3 separate regions of the Homo sapiens genome follow, and all the other regions are linked to region 2. Evidence: promoter capture Hi-C in human tissues and cell types (Jung and others, 2019). All regions are on one chromosome and are shown on one strand. Each heading gives the region's core, a stretch centred on a gene start or on the middle of the fragment in contact. The rest is flanking DNA. Distances are from core to core; before and after follow the strand shown. Region 1 holds the start of TNFRSF6B (TNF receptor superfamily member 6b). Region 2 holds the start of NPBWR2 (neuropeptides B and W receptor 2). Region 3 overlaps ZGPAT (zinc finger CCCH-type and G-patch domain containing).

Region 1 (4,295 bases), core at 1-2,500, 410 kb before region 2:
ACTGTGGGGGCGGGCGGTGAGGATGCAGGTCCCAGCCAGTCCTCAGGACCTCCCCACGGGCCTGCAGCATCTGAGTGGGGTGAGCCTCATGGGAGAGACATCGCTGGGCAGCAGGCCACGGGAGCTCCGGGCGGGCCCCTCTCAGCAGGCTGTGTGTGCCAGGGCTGTGGGGCAGAGGACGTGGTGCCCTTCCAGTGCCCTGCCTGTGACTTCCAGCGCTGCCAAGCCTGCTGGCAACGGCACCTTCAGGTTGGTGCCTGGCCACTACAGTTCCTGCTGGGTGTAGCCCCAGGTGATGGGCTGAGGGGGAAAGGGCAGGCCCTTGTCCTGGTGGCAACGCCTGGCAGACGTGTGCAGTGGGCCGGTTGTCTCACAGGCCTCTAGGATGTGCCCAGCCTGCCACACCGCCTCCAGGAAGCAGAGCGTCATGCAGGTCTTCTGGCCAGAGCCCCAGTGAGTGCCCACGGAGGCCCCCAGCACACCCAACGTGGCTTGATCACCTGCCTGTCCAGCTCTGGTGGGCCAAGAACCCACCCAACAGAATAGGCCAGCCCATGCCAGCCGGCTTGGCCCGCTGCAGGCCTCAGGCAGGCGGGGCCCATGGTTGGTCCCTGCGGTGGGACCGGATCTGGGCCTGCCTCTGAGAAGCCCTGAGCTACCTTGGGGTCTGGGGTGGGTTTCTGGGAAAGTGCTTCCCCAGAACTTCCCTGGCTCCTGGCCTGTGAGTGGTGCCACAGGGGCACCCCAGCTGAGCCCCTCACCGGGAAGGAGGAGACCCCCGTGGGCACGTGTCCACTTTTAATCAGGGGACAGGGCTCTCTAATAAAGCTGCTGGCAGTGCCCAGGACGGTGTCTTCGTGGCCTGGGCTTGGTGGTGGGAGTTGAGGGACAGGGAGTTGGCAGAGGCCCCTCCCAGCCTGCCATGTGACACTGTACTTCCTCCACGGTGGGCTCAGCCCTGCCCTCATCCTCACAGCCGCAGCCAAGCTGCAGTTGGTAGGGGATCCACCGACACACCAGGCTGCCTGGGCTGGTCTCTGGGTTGGGAGCTGCCCCAGGTGCTGAGGAGGGCAGCTCCCTGGCTGGTGAGGCCCCTCCCAGAACCACCCTTGGACTGAGCTCTGGGGAGGGATGGTACCAGGTGGGTGAGGGGGGCTGCCTGGGGAGGGAGGGGTTCCTATGGGGCGTGGCGAGGCTGGCCCAGCCCTCTCCCCGCCCATATATGTAGGGCAGCAGCAGGATGGGCTTCTGGACTTGGGCGGCCCCTCCGCAGGCGGACCGGGGGCAAAGGAGGTGGCATGTCGGTCAGGCACAGCAGGGTCCTGTGTCCGCGCTGAGCCGCGCTCTCCCTGCTCCAGCAAGGACCATGAGGGCGCTGGAGGGGCCAGGCCTGTCGCTGCTGTGCCTGGTGTTGGCGCTGCCTGCCCTGCTGCCGGTGCCGGCTGTACGCGGAGTGGCAGAAACACCCACCTACCCCTGGCGGGACGCAGAGACAGGGGAGCGGCTGGTGTGCGCCCAGTGCCCCCCAGGCACCTTTGTGCAGCGGCCGTGCCGCCGAGACAGCCCCACGACGTGTGGCCCGTGTCCACCGCGCCACTACACGCAGTTCTGGAACTACCTAGAGCGCTGCCGCTACTGCAACGTCCTCTGCGGGGAGCGTGAGGAGGAGGCACGGGCTTGCCACGCCACCCACAACCGTGCCTGCCGCTGCCGCACCGGCTTCTTCGCGCACGCTGGTTTCTGCTTGGAGCACGCATCGTGTCCACCTGGTGCCGGCGTGATTGCCCCGGGTGAGAGCTGGGCGAGGGGAGGGGCCCCCAGGAGTGGTGGCCGGAGGTGTGGCAGGGGTCAGGTTGCTGGTCCCAGCCTTGCACCCTGAGCTAGGACACCAGTTCCCCTGACCCTGTTCTTCCCTCCTGGCTGCAGGCACCCCCAGCCAGAACACGCAGTGCCAGCCGTGCCCCCCAGGCACCTTCTCAGCCAGCAGCTCCAGCTCAGAGCAGTGCCAGCCCCACCGCAACTGCACGGCCCTGGGCCTGGCCCTCAATGTGCCAGGCTCTTCCTCCCATGACACCCTGTGCACCAGCTGCACTGGCTTCCCCCTCAGCACCAGGGTACCAGGTGAGCCAGAGGCCTGAGGGGGCAGCACACTGCAGGCCAGGCCCACTTGTGCCCTCACTCCTGCCCCTGCACGTGCATCTAGCCTGAGGCATGCCAGCTGGCTCTGGGAAGGGGCCACAGTGGATTTGAGGGGTCAGGGGTCCCTCCACTAGATCCCCACCAAGTCTGCCCTCTCAGGGGTGGCTGAGAATTTGGATCTGAGCCAGGGCACAGCCTCCCCTGGGGAGCTCTGGGAAAGTGGGCAGCAATCTCCTAACTGCCCGAGGGGAAGGTGGCTGGCTCCTCTGACACGGGGAAACCGAGGCCTGATGGTAACTCTCCTAACTGCCTGAGAGGAAGGTGGCTGCCTCCTCTGACATGGGGAAACCGAGGCCCAATGTTAACCACTGTTGAGAAGTCACAGGGGGAAGTGACCCCCTTAACATCAAGTCAGGTCCGGTCCATCTGCAGGTCCCAACTCGCCCCTTCCGATGGCCCAGGAGCCCCAAGCCCTTGCCTGGGCCCCCTTGCCTCTTGCAGCCAAGGTCCGAGTGGCCGCTCCTGCCCCCTAGGCCTTTGCTCCAGCTCTCTGACCGAAGGCTCCTGCCCCTTCTCCAGTCCCCATCGTTGCACTGCCCTCTCCAGCACGGCTCACTGCACAGGGATTTCTCTCTCCTGCAAACCCCCCGAGTGGGGCCCAGAAAGCAGGGTACCTGGCAGCCCCCGCCAGTGTGTGTGGGTGAAATGATCGGACCGCTGCCTCCCCACCCCACTGCAGGAGCTGAGGAGTGTGAGCGTGCCGTCATCGACTTTGTGGCTTTCCAGGACATCTCCATCAAGAGGCTGCAGCGGCTGCTGCAGGCCCTCGAGGCCCCGGAGGGCTGGGGTCCGACACCAAGGGCGGGCCGCGCGGCCTTGCAGCTGAAGCTGCGTCGGCGGCTCACGGAGCTCCTGGGGGCGCAGGACGGGGCGCTGCTGGTGCGGCTGCTGCAGGCGCTGCGCGTGGCCAGGATGCCCGGGCTGGAGCGGAGCGTCCGTGAGCGCTTCCTCCCTGTGCACTGATCCTGGCCCCCTCTTATTTATTCTACATCCTTGGCACCCCACTTGCACTGAAAGAGGCTTTTTTTTAAATAGAAGAAATGAGGTTTCTTAAAGCTTATTTTTATAAAGCTTTTTCATAAAACTGGTTGTAGTTGCACAGCTACTGGGAGGGCAGCCGGGGACACCTGAGCCGCCCGCTGTGCCCAGATCCCTCAGGCTGCCTGCCATCAGAACTGCTGCCCGGGGCTTCCCCTACCTCAGACAGACCCTCCCTGGGAGGATCAGTGGGGAGTGCCACCTCTGCCCCCAGTGGCTGTGGCACGTGGCAGGGGCCCCTGAAGCTCAGCGAGGGTCAGGGCCTGGGAGGGTATCATTGCTGGAAGAACAGGATGGGGCTCAGGCCAGCCCTAGTCGCCGGGGCCCACACTAACCCCCCACTTATGAATTCCTCCCACTCCCAACTCACAGGGGATTTCCCGAGAGGGGACCTGCCAAAGACCTCCTCCAGGCCTCCCATGCTTTCCGGGAAGTGAAGCTTCTCCCTCTCTGGGGCAGGCTCTGAAGCCTCCCGATGCACCCAGAGCAACCGGGGGGCTGCACCAGCCACTCGCCTCCCCAGCACGGCCAGGTTCCCGGGGCTGGAGGTCCCCCCCAGGTCCTGGGAACCAACCTGCAGAACACACACAGGGTCCCCTGGAGAGGACGCGGGGACTTCCAGGGCCCGACTCCTGTGAGTCACAGCCCCGCAGCTGCTGCGCCACCCCCACCCTGACTCATGCCCCTTCCCAGCAGCTCCTCCCAGGACCCCATGTCCTTCCCACATCCGCAGGAAGGGAGTGCCTGGACTCTCCAGGCCCACCTGGGGAGCCCCTCACCTGCCCACCAGCCCCTGAGCAGCCCAGTAACACCATCACCGTGTCCAACAGCCAGGAGCCTCCACCCTCCAGGAGGGAAGGGATGGACAGAGCCACACTCGCCGTCTTTATTTTGCACTCACCCTGGGTGACACTGGGCAGGCCGCTCCTGCCCACAGCCAGACTGAGGAAGAACACAGCACTCGGCAGGCCCAGTGGGGTCCGTGCAGGGAGGACCCCAGGACCAGCCTTACTCCCGAGCAGGGGACACAGGGCCCCACAGAGAACCCCTCCGGGAGG
Region 2 (4,579 bases), core at 1,321-3,820:
GGCGGGGCTGGGCCTCCTGCTGGAACTCCACTTGGGCTTCAGGCCACGAGAGTGGATTTCTGGGTCTCATGCGGTGCAGGTGTCCGCCTTTGCAGCAACACAGCATCGCTGCTGCCTGAGGTGCCCGCACTTACCACCCCCCGGCCCCATCTTGGGGAGAGACTATGTAACGTGGCCCAGGTCAAGATCACAGTTCAGGTTCCCTCCCCTCCCGACCACTGTCATTAGGGATCCTGAGTCCCAGAGCCTTCCAAGGGGCTTGTCCATCTGTCTGTCTCTCGTGGGTAAGTGGGCCCGGGATGCTTGCTGTGTGGGGGCCTCTGCCAGGACCTGGATCCCTGCTGCTGTCCACCCAGGGGCTGTCCAGGAAGCAGAGACATGGGAGGTATATGCCCACGGCTGTCTGTAGGTCTGGTGGCCAGCGTGTGAGGGTCTGTGTCTCCTTGCGTGGAGAGGACAGCACTGGGATGTGAACAGGCCGGGCGTCCCCTGAAAGAGACAGCCGGAACTGGGTGGGGGTGGGCGTGATGATGGGGGTGATGGTGGGGGTGGTGGGGGGGGTGGGCGTGATGATGGGGGTGGGGGTGGGGGTGGGGGTGATGGTGGGCGTGATGGTGGGGGTGGGGGTGATGGGGGTGGGCGTGATGGTGGATGTGATGGGGGTGGGCATGATGATGGGCGTGATGATGGGGGTGGTGGTGGGGGTGATGGTGGGGGTGGTGGTGGGGGTGGGGGGGGGTGGGCCTGATGGGGGTGTGGGCATGATGATGATGGGCGTGATGATGATGGGGGGTGATGATGGGCATGATGATGGGGGTGATGGTGCCCAGGCCCTTCAGCACCGCAATATGCTGCGGAAGTTCTTCCGGAAGTTGTCATCTAGAAAGGCGTAGAGGAAGGGGTTCAGGCACGAGTTGGCGTAGCTGAGGCTGGTGATGACGTAGGACATACTGATGACCAGTGGGGTCTGGGGCAGGTCCGTGGTCAGGGCCACGACAGAGGCCAGGTGGAAGGGCGTCCAGCAGAGGAGGCACACGGCCAGCACGACGAGGACCAGGACGGTCACCTTCCGCCTGGCCTTGCCTAGAGCCTTGGCTCCAGAGCGGAGCCGCACGGCCCGCAGCCTGCGCAGGAGGTCTGTGTAGAGCACACAGATGGTGCACACGGGCAGCACGAAGCCCAGGACCAACGTGTAGACACGGCTGGCCTTGAACCAGACCTGCTCGGGCCACGGGAAGCTCAGCCCACAGCTTGGGACCTGCAGCTCGTTGCTGTAGACGCCAGCGAAAGAGAAGAAGGGCAGAACCAGGACCGTGACGCCCAGCCAGACACACAGGCTGGCGACCTTCGCCCCCCGGTAGGTGCGCCAGGGCATGTGGCGGGACCTCACGGTGGCCAGCACCACCAGGTATCGGTCCACGCTCATCACGGCTAGGAAGTAGATGCTGGAGAAGATGTTGTAGTGGTCGACGGCCAGCACCAGCTTGCAGAGCAGCTCCCCGAAGGGCCAGTACTGCAGCAGGTGCTCCGCGATGTTGACGGGCAGTACCAGCGTGAAGAGCCCGTCGGCGACGGCCAGGTTCAGGATGAACACGTTGGTCACCGTCTTCATCTTGGGCGCCCTTAGGATTACAAGGATGACGGCCGTGTTGCCAGTCAGCCCCACAGCACAGATCCCGGAGTACACGGCGGGCAGGAGCACATAGAGGAACGGCAGTGGCTCGGAGAAGGTGGCATTGTGGCCAGTGCCATTGTCCTGAGAGACGTTGGCACCCATCGTGGGGAGGGAGAAGGAGCCCCTGCTGTCAAGGGGCTCTGGGTGCCCAGCGGCCTGCATTGTAGCTGGGACCGTTGACGATTTGCGCCCTGGGCAGGTGGGAGGTGCCTTGGAGTTGGGTATCTGGTTGGGGGCCTCCTTGGGCTGGATTCTAGGAAAGAAAAACAACCAGAGACTTTGAGATCCGGCCGTCTGTTAGGGCACAGCCACTCCAGGTTCTCTGGCAGAGACTGCGGCCACTTTGCCAGGTCAAGGACATGGGGCCAGAGGGAGCCTGGTGGGGTGTGTGGGGGCCTCCTCCCGCCTCTTCCTGGTGAGACTTCAGCAGATCAGTTCCCTCCTCCCGCAGAGAGCAGCTGCTGGCCACCCTCCTGGGAAGAGATGTGGATCCGTCCCTGCCCCAGCAACCCGCAGATGCACGGGCTGCGTAGAATCAAGCGGTCCCTTTGGAAACACACCTCCCAAGCTCATCTCTGGCTCCCTTGAATCTGAAGGTCCTTCCCTCAGGGGTCTTGGAGTCTGCACCCTCCCTCACACCCTCCCGAGAGATGCTGCAGACCCTGCTGGTCCAGCTACTCTTCTCTCCACTGACCTGTCCAGTGCTTCGAGTCCAGAAGTTGGTAGCCTTGGTGTGTTCCTGGTTTTGGCCAGTACAGGCAGTCGCAGGGATGGAGGGCGAGGTGTGGTCCTCACTGACAGACCTCCAGCTGAGGTTTCAGGAGTTTCAAGACCTGCCCTGCTGGCTGCCTCAGCCCCGGCTGCGAGGTTCCCAGCCTGGTGTCAGTGCTGATGCTGGTGAGGGAGGGAGGCGGATCCCCCTTGCTGACGTGGAGCCCGGAAGGCAGGCCCCACCTTCCCCTGAGCTGCAGTAGCGCCTGCAGTCGGCTGTCCCAGGGTCTCCTCAGCATTCACTTACCCAGGCAGACTCCTCAGTGGGCGGCTGAGGCACGTGTGCGCCTGTGTGTCAGGAAGGGACTCCATGCAGGGGCCTCTGGGTGTGCCCAGGTCTTCGGGCAGAGGGCACTGAAGGCATCTGTGCCTCTGTCCGGGAGTCACTGTGGGCCTGGGCACCCTTATCTGTGAACATGGGTGTCTTGGTGGGTCTCCTGCCCCACCCTGTGTGTGTACATGGTGTGTTCCTGTGTGTGTGTGCCAGTTAGGACATGTACGTGTGTGGGCCTGTGTCTGCCTGTATGGGGGTCTCTGTGGGTGAGCTCTGCGTTGTATCTGAGTGGGTCTACATGTCCTTGGCTGAGTGTGGGCATCTGGGGGGTCTGTATGCCCTCATGTGGAAGCAGAACTTGTTGGCCATAGGCAACCCACCTTCTTTTTTTGTCTTTTGCTAAAAGAGGAACTCAGCCTAGGCAAGCTGTGAAAGGCTGCAGAGAAGACGTTCTCACGCTGACACGTAACTCTCCCGCCGTCCTGCAGAGGTGGTGAGCATCACACTCTGCTCTGGGTTGGTCTTTAAGTCCTTCCCTTCTCCCTGCTTTTCTTCCTTGCTGGACGCACCCTGGCTTATCCAACCCGTGTGTGTGCAGCTCGGCCGCATCTGGACCTGCTTTGCAGGCAACGCCACAGCTGACACGAGCAGTCGCCAGTCTCAGAGCCGCTCCTCAGCGGAGACGTGTTGGGTCAGAGGGTCTGTGTTTTCTTTCCTTTCTTCTTTTTTGAGACAGGGTCTTGCCCTGTCACCCAGGCTGGGGTGCAGTGGCACTATCATGGCTCACTGCAGCCCTGACCTCCCTGGGCTCAGGTGATCCTCCCACCTCAGCCTCTCAAGTAGCTGGGACTACAGGCATGTGCCACCATGCCTGGCTAATTTTTGTGTTTTTTTTTGTAGAGACGGGGTTTCACCATGTTGCCCAGGCTGGTCTCGATCTCCTGAGCTTCAGCCTCTACCTCAGCCTCCCAAAGTGCTCAGGTTATAGCCATGACCCACCGTGCCTGGTCACTGTGTGTTTTCAGTCTGGGGAGATGTGTCTGCCCATCGAGACTGTGCCCGCTGCCTGTGGGGTTGCAAGGATGTCACCGCACACTCATGGTCGGCCTTCTTTCCTGAGAGTTGCTCTGTCAAGTCTATTGGTTAGGACAGGAGCCTGGGCAGTCGCCCTGAGTACCCTGATGTCGCCAGCCTGAGGGTACACTGTGGGTGGGCCCCGAGCTACCCTTCTATGGGCTGTGCCATGTGGATGTTGAGTCCGGGGTCAGGGAACCCTGCTGAGATATCTCACACTCCTCTTCAGCCAGTTTGGGGATGGCGGTGGGGGGGATCTGTGGGTGTGTCTCGAGGGAGCGTGGGGCTTGTAGCCACAGTTTGTCACATAAGTGGAGCTTGACGCCCACAAGGTCAGGGGATGGTGATTAGCAGCCGTGAGGAGAGGGTGCATTGGGGCTGAATTTTGTGATTTGGGGTGTTCGTGGGGTCGGGAGGGGTCAGTTCACAGCTCCTGGAAACCAGAGGCGTGACACAGAGAGGCCAGGCCTGGCATGTGGTGGCCCAGGCATTGACCAGGGTGTGGGCTGGGCCAGGCGGTCACTGGTCTTGGCTGGGGAGCGGCCGACCATGGCCTCAGCACCGGGCACTGGGAGAATGTCCCAGGCCTGCTGTCACCGAGCTGCTGTCCTGGGGTGGGGCTGGCCACGCTGGCCTGATTCTGGGCCTCCCTGGGGGCCTGCTGTCACCGAGCTGCTGTCCTGGGGTGGGGCTGGCCACACTGCCTGACTCTGGGCCTCCCTGGGGGCATTGCTGGGGGCCTCTCCCTTCCATGCATTTTGGGAGGGGCCCAGGCTAGTGCCGGT
Region 3 (4,860 bases), core at 2,153-4,652, 380 kb before region 2:
TTTTTTAGTGTATTTAAGGTAATTGATTGAAAGTTTTTGTCTAGTCATTCAAATGTCTAGGCTTCCTCAGGAACAGTTTCTATTAATTTCTTTATTTTTAAAAAATTTTTTTTAATTTTCTTTTTTTTTTAGATGGAGTCTCACTCTATAGCCTAGGCTGGAGTGCAATGGCTTGATCTTGGCTCACTGCAACCTCTGCCTCCTGGGTTCAAGCGATTCTCCTGCTTCAGCCTCCTGAGTAGCTGGGACTATAGGTGCGTGCCACCACTCCTGGCTAATTTTTTGTATTTTCAGTAGAGACATGGTTTTGCCGTGTTAGCCAGGATGGTCTCGATCTCGTGACCTCATGATCCTCCTGCCTCGGCCTCCCAAAGTGCTGGAATTACAGGTGTGAGCCACCGCGCCCAGCCTATTTTTTATTTTTTGAGACAAAGTCTCCCTCTCTCACCCAGGCTGTAGTGCAGTGGCACAACCCTGGCACACTGCAGCCTTAACCGTCCAGGCTTAAGTGAGTCTCCCACCTTAGTCTCCTGAGTAGCTAGAACTACAAGCATGTGCCACCATGCCTGGCTGGTTGTGTTGTTACTGTTTTAGACACAGGGTCTTGCTACATTTCTCTGACTGGTCTTGAACTCCTGGGCTCAAGCAGTCATCCCACCTTGGCCTCCCAAGGTGTTGAGATTACAGGTGTGAGCCACCGCACCCGGCCTGTTAATTTCTTTATTTCCGGTGAATGGGCCACACTTTCTTGTTTCTTTGCATGCCTTGTAATTTTTTGTTGAAACCTGCACAATTTGAAGATGATAATGTGGTTACTTTGAAAATCAGATCCTCCGCCCTCTGCAGGGTTCATTGTTGCTGTTTGTTGTGGATTGTCGTTTCTCGTTTGTTTAGTTACTTTCCTGACCTTTTTAAATAAAGATTATATTCTGTCAGGGGTGCTTGTTTCTGTTCTTTTAGGTTAGTGGTTAGCTTGTGCTTTGAAAGAGATTTCTTTAAATATCTAGTGGCAAAAAGGATAAAGAGGCCGGGCGCAGTGGCTCACGCCTGTAATGCTAGGACTTTGGGAAGTGGAGGCGGGTGGATCACTTGAGGTCAGGAGTTTAAGATCAGCCTGGCCAGTATGGTGAAACCCTGTCTCTACTAAAAATACAAAAATTAACCGGGCATGGTGGCACCTGCCTGTAGTCCCAGCTACTGGGAAGACTGAGGCAGGAGAATCGCTTCAACCCAGGGGGCGGAGGTTGCAGTGAGCTGAGATTGCGCCATTGCACTCCAGCCTGGGCAACAGAGCGAGACTCTGTCTCAAATAAAAAAAAAAAAAAAAAGGATAAAGAGTGTCTTCCATCCTTTCCAGGTTGCCTCTGTACTGGGGCAAGTCCTTCAGTGTCCGCCAGGCTGTTCACGGCTTTTCCTCAGCCTTTACTTCTTGCTCCCATGGAGCCTAAGGATGAACCAGAGGTGAAAGTTGAGGGCCTCCTCAGGTGTTTCTGAGCCCCTGTCTAGCCCCAGCTGTGTGCATGGCCTTCTGGATTTCCAAGCATGAACAGGAGCTTTCCAAAGCCCTTAGACCTTCATGTAGCTCTTTTCCCAGCCTCTTCCTTCCTAGGCTTTTCTGTCAGCTCTTTGCCCATCTGTTGTTGTCCCTCCCCCACAACTTCAGGTAGTATCTACCTGTAAATGCCTTCAGGCCAGGCGCGGTGGCTCATACCTGTTATCCCAGCACTTTGGGAGGCCGAGGCGGGTGAATTGCTTGAGGTCAGGAGTTCGAGACCAGCCTGGCCAACATGGTGAAGCCCCGTCTCTAGTAAAAATACAAAAATTAGCTGGGCGTGGTGGGTGCCTGTAATCTCAGCTACTCGGGAGGCTGAAGCAGGAGAATTGCTTGAGCCTGGGAGGCGGAGGTTGCAGTGAGCTGAGATCGTGCCATTGCACTCCAGCCTGGGCGACAGAGTGAGACTCCATCTCGGGGAAAAAAAAAAAAAAAAAATGCCATCAACAGCACGACCCTGGAGGCTGCCCCAGCCCTGAGAGAGTTCGAGGGGGTGAAACAAAGGCAAGCCCTTCAGGGAGACACTAGAAAGATCCAAATGCATAAGCAGGATTCCTTGAGAAAAGGTCTGTATCATCCCTTCTGACACCAGCAAGCCACATCAGAAATACAGGTTGCCTTCCCCATGGCTACATGTGAGCTGGTAGTAGTGGCTGAGCAGAAATAGCCCAGCTGTCCTCCTGAAATTTAGCAGGGTCTTACTTCATTGAGCAGTCATCTGGTTCGTAGACACCAGAGTTACAGAAAAGTTTATTGGGAGGTTTTGACAGTTTAATAGAAAAAAGTTTATTGTGACAGTTTTGACAGCTGAATAGAAAAAAGTTTATTGTGACAGTTTTGACAGCAGAATAGTTGCTTTGCTGGAGAGACGGATCTTTGGAGCTGCCAACTCCATCATTTTGGTGATATCCAGCTCTGTTGCTGAATTTTTAGCTATGCTGTTTTAAGTTATTTTCTTAGTGGTTGCTCTAGAGATGACAATGTACATCTTTAACTTACCACAATGTACTTCAGATTATTACTAACTTAACACTTAAAGTACAGCATTTTTTTTTTTATGGAGTTTCACTCTGTCACCCAGGCTGGAGTGCAATGGTGTGATCTCGGCTCACTGCAACCTCCGCCTCCCAGGTTCACGCCATTCTCCTGCCTCAGCCTCCTGAGTAGCTGGGACTACAGGCACCCCCACCACACCCGGCTAATTTTGTATTTTTAGTAGAGATGAGGTTTCACCATGTTGGTCAGGCTGGTCTCGAACTGCTGACCTCAGGTGATCCGCCCATCTTGGCCTCCCAAAGTGCTGGGATTACAGGTGTGAGCGACTGCACTGAGCCTAAGTATGGCAACGTGTCTATAACATAGATCTACTTCCGTTGTACTATGACATAGTTCCCCCTCCATTTTCCTATAGCACAGTCCCAACCTCCCTTTTCCTCTGACATAGTTCCATCCTCCCTCCTCCTATGACGTCCTCCCTTCTCCTCTGGCATAGCTCCATCCTCCCTTCTCCTATGACACAGCTCCATCCTCCCTTCTCCTCTGACATAGCTCCATCCTCCCTTCTCCTATGACACAGCTCCATCCTCCCTTCTCCTCTGACATAGCTCCATCCTCCCTTCTCCTGTGTCATAGCTCCATCCTCCCTTCTCCTCTGACACAGCTCCATCCTCCCTTCTCCTCTGGCATAGCTCCATCCTCCCTTCTCCTATGACACAGCTCCATCCTCCCTTCTCCTATGACACAGCTCCATCCTCCCTTCTCCTATGACACAGCTCCATCCTCCCTTCTCCTATGACACAGCTCCATCCTCCCTTCTCCTATGACACAGCTCCATCCTCCCTTCTCCTCTGGCATAGCTCCATCCTCCCTTCTCCTCTGACATAGCTCCATCCTCCCTTCTCCTCTGACATAGCTCCATCCTCCCTTCTCCTCTGACATAGCTCCATCCTCCCTTCTCCTCTGACATAGCTCCATCCTCCCTTCTCCTCTGACATAGCTCCATCCTCCCTTCTCCTCTGACATAGTTCCATCCTCCCTTGTCCTCTGACATAGCTCCATCCTCCCTTCTCCTCTGACATAGCTCCATCCCCTCTTCTCCTTCATGTATTATTGCCATATATACATTTATGTATGTTATAACTTCAGCTCTTCAGCGTTATAATTATTGCTTCAAAAGTATTTTGAAAGAAGTTGCCTGGAGGCAGTGGCTTATGCCTTTAACTCCAGCACTTTTGGGGGCTGAGGTGGGCAGATCGCCTGAGCCAGGGAGTTGGAGACCAGCCTGGGCAACATGACGAAACCCATCTCCACCAAAATTACAAAAAATTAGTCTGGCATGGTGGCACGCGCCTGTAGTCCCAGCTATTTGGGGGAGGATCCCAGCTAAGGTGGGAGGATCACTTGAGCCTGGGAAGTCAAGGCTGCAGTGAGCTGAGATTGTGCCACTGCACTCCAGCCTGGGTGCAGATCTTATCTCAGAAGTAAAGGGACTAGGAATGGTGGCTTTTATCTCTAATCCCAGCACTTTGGGAGGCTGAGGTGAGTGGATCACCGGAGGTCAGGAGTTTAAGACCAGCCTGGCCAACATGGTGAAACCCCGTCTCTACTAAAAATACAAAAAGTAGCCGGGTGTGGTGGTGGGTGTCTGTAATCCCAGCTACTCGGGAGGCTGAGGCAAGAGAATCGCTTGAACCTGGGAAGCGGAGGTTGCAGTGAGCAAGATCGCACCACTGCATTACAGCCTAGATGACAGAGCGAGACTCTGCCTAAAAAAAAAAAAAAAAAGAAAAGAAAAGAAATTAAGATCTGGACACTGTGGTTCATGCCTGTAATCCCAAAGCCTTGGGAGGCCAAGGCAGGAGGATCACTTGAGGCCAGGAGTTCAACACCAGCCTGGGCAACATAGCGAGACTCCATCTCTATTTAAAAAAGAAAGAAATTCAAAGAGAAAAAAAGTATACTTGTTTTTTTGTATCATCCATATTTTACCTTTCTTTTTTTTGCCCCTTTTTCTTTCCTGTGAATTTGAGTTACTGTCTAGTGTCATTTCCTTTTAGTCTGAAGAACTTCATTTAGAATTTTTTTTTTTTTTTTTTGAGACAAAGTCTCACTGTGTTGCCCAGGCTGGAGTGCAATGGTGCAGTCTCAGATCACTGCAACCTCTGCCTCCCTGGTTAGAGTGATTTTCCTGCCTCAGCCTCCCAAGTAGCTGAGACTGCAGGCACCTGCCACCACCCCCAGCCAATTTTTTTGGTATTTTTAGTAGAGACAGGGTTTCACTATGTTGGCCAGGCTGGTCTCGAATTCAT

Evidence for each region. Contacts are between HindIII fragments. The study calls those that stand out against the background at their distance.
Region 1: a contact is called between the fragment with the promoter of TNFRSF6B here and the fragment with the promoter of NPBWR2 in region 2, in 1 of the 25 tissues and cell types used here (dorsolateral prefrontal cortex).
Region 3: a contact is called between a fragment that was not itself captured here and the fragment with the promoter of NPBWR2 in region 2, in 4 of the 25 tissues and cell types used here (dorsolateral prefrontal cortex, lymphoblastoid cells, spleen and 1 more).

The regions. Positions count from the first base shown.
Region 1 is chr20:63,695,402-63,699,696 of GRCh38, forward strand. TNFRSF6B (TNF receptor superfamily member 6b) reads left to right here and starts at 1,251. Exons shown (of 3, transcript NM_003823.4): 1 at 1,251-1,790; 2 at 1,927-2,121; 3 at 2,879-3,283. The coding sequence starts at 1,367. The coding sequence ends at 3,162. It overlaps RTEL1 (regulator of telomere elongation helicase 1), which reads left to right. Exons shown (of 35, transcript NM_001283009.2): 34 at 1-249; 35 at 377-844. The coding sequence ends at 457. It overlaps RTEL1-TNFRSF6B (RTEL1-TNFRSF6B readthrough (NMD candidate)), which reads left to right. Exons shown (of 38, transcript NR_037882.1): 34 at 1-249; 35 at 377-453; 36 at 1,359-1,790; 37 at 1,927-2,121; 38 at 2,879-3,297. ARFRP1 (ARF related protein 1) reads right to left here. Exons shown (of 8, transcript NM_001267547.3): 8 at 3,246-4,295. RefSeq lists enhancers at 546-595, 2,356-2,405, 3,501-3,550, 3,791-3,970, 4,041-4,090 and 2 more. The HindIII fragment of the contact is 5,085 bases long and covers 1-3,473 here.
Region 2 is chr20:64,104,995-64,109,573 of GRCh38, forward strand. It overlaps NPBWR2 (neuropeptides B and W receptor 2), which reads right to left and starts at 2,571. Exons shown (of 2, transcript NM_005286.4): 1 at 2,370-2,571; 2 at 1-1,928. The coding sequence starts at 1,837. The coding sequence ends at 836. RefSeq lists an enhancer at 2,119-2,619. The HindIII fragment of the contact is 24,186 bases long and covers 1-4,579 here.
Region 3 is chr20:63,720,045-63,724,904 of GRCh38, forward strand. The region is part of intron 2 of ZGPAT (zinc finger CCCH-type and G-patch domain containing); the gene reads left to right. Among named protein-coding and RNA genes, the nearest start is that of LIME1, 14 kb to the right of the region's middle. The HindIII fragment of the contact is 9,604 bases long and covers 1-4,860 here.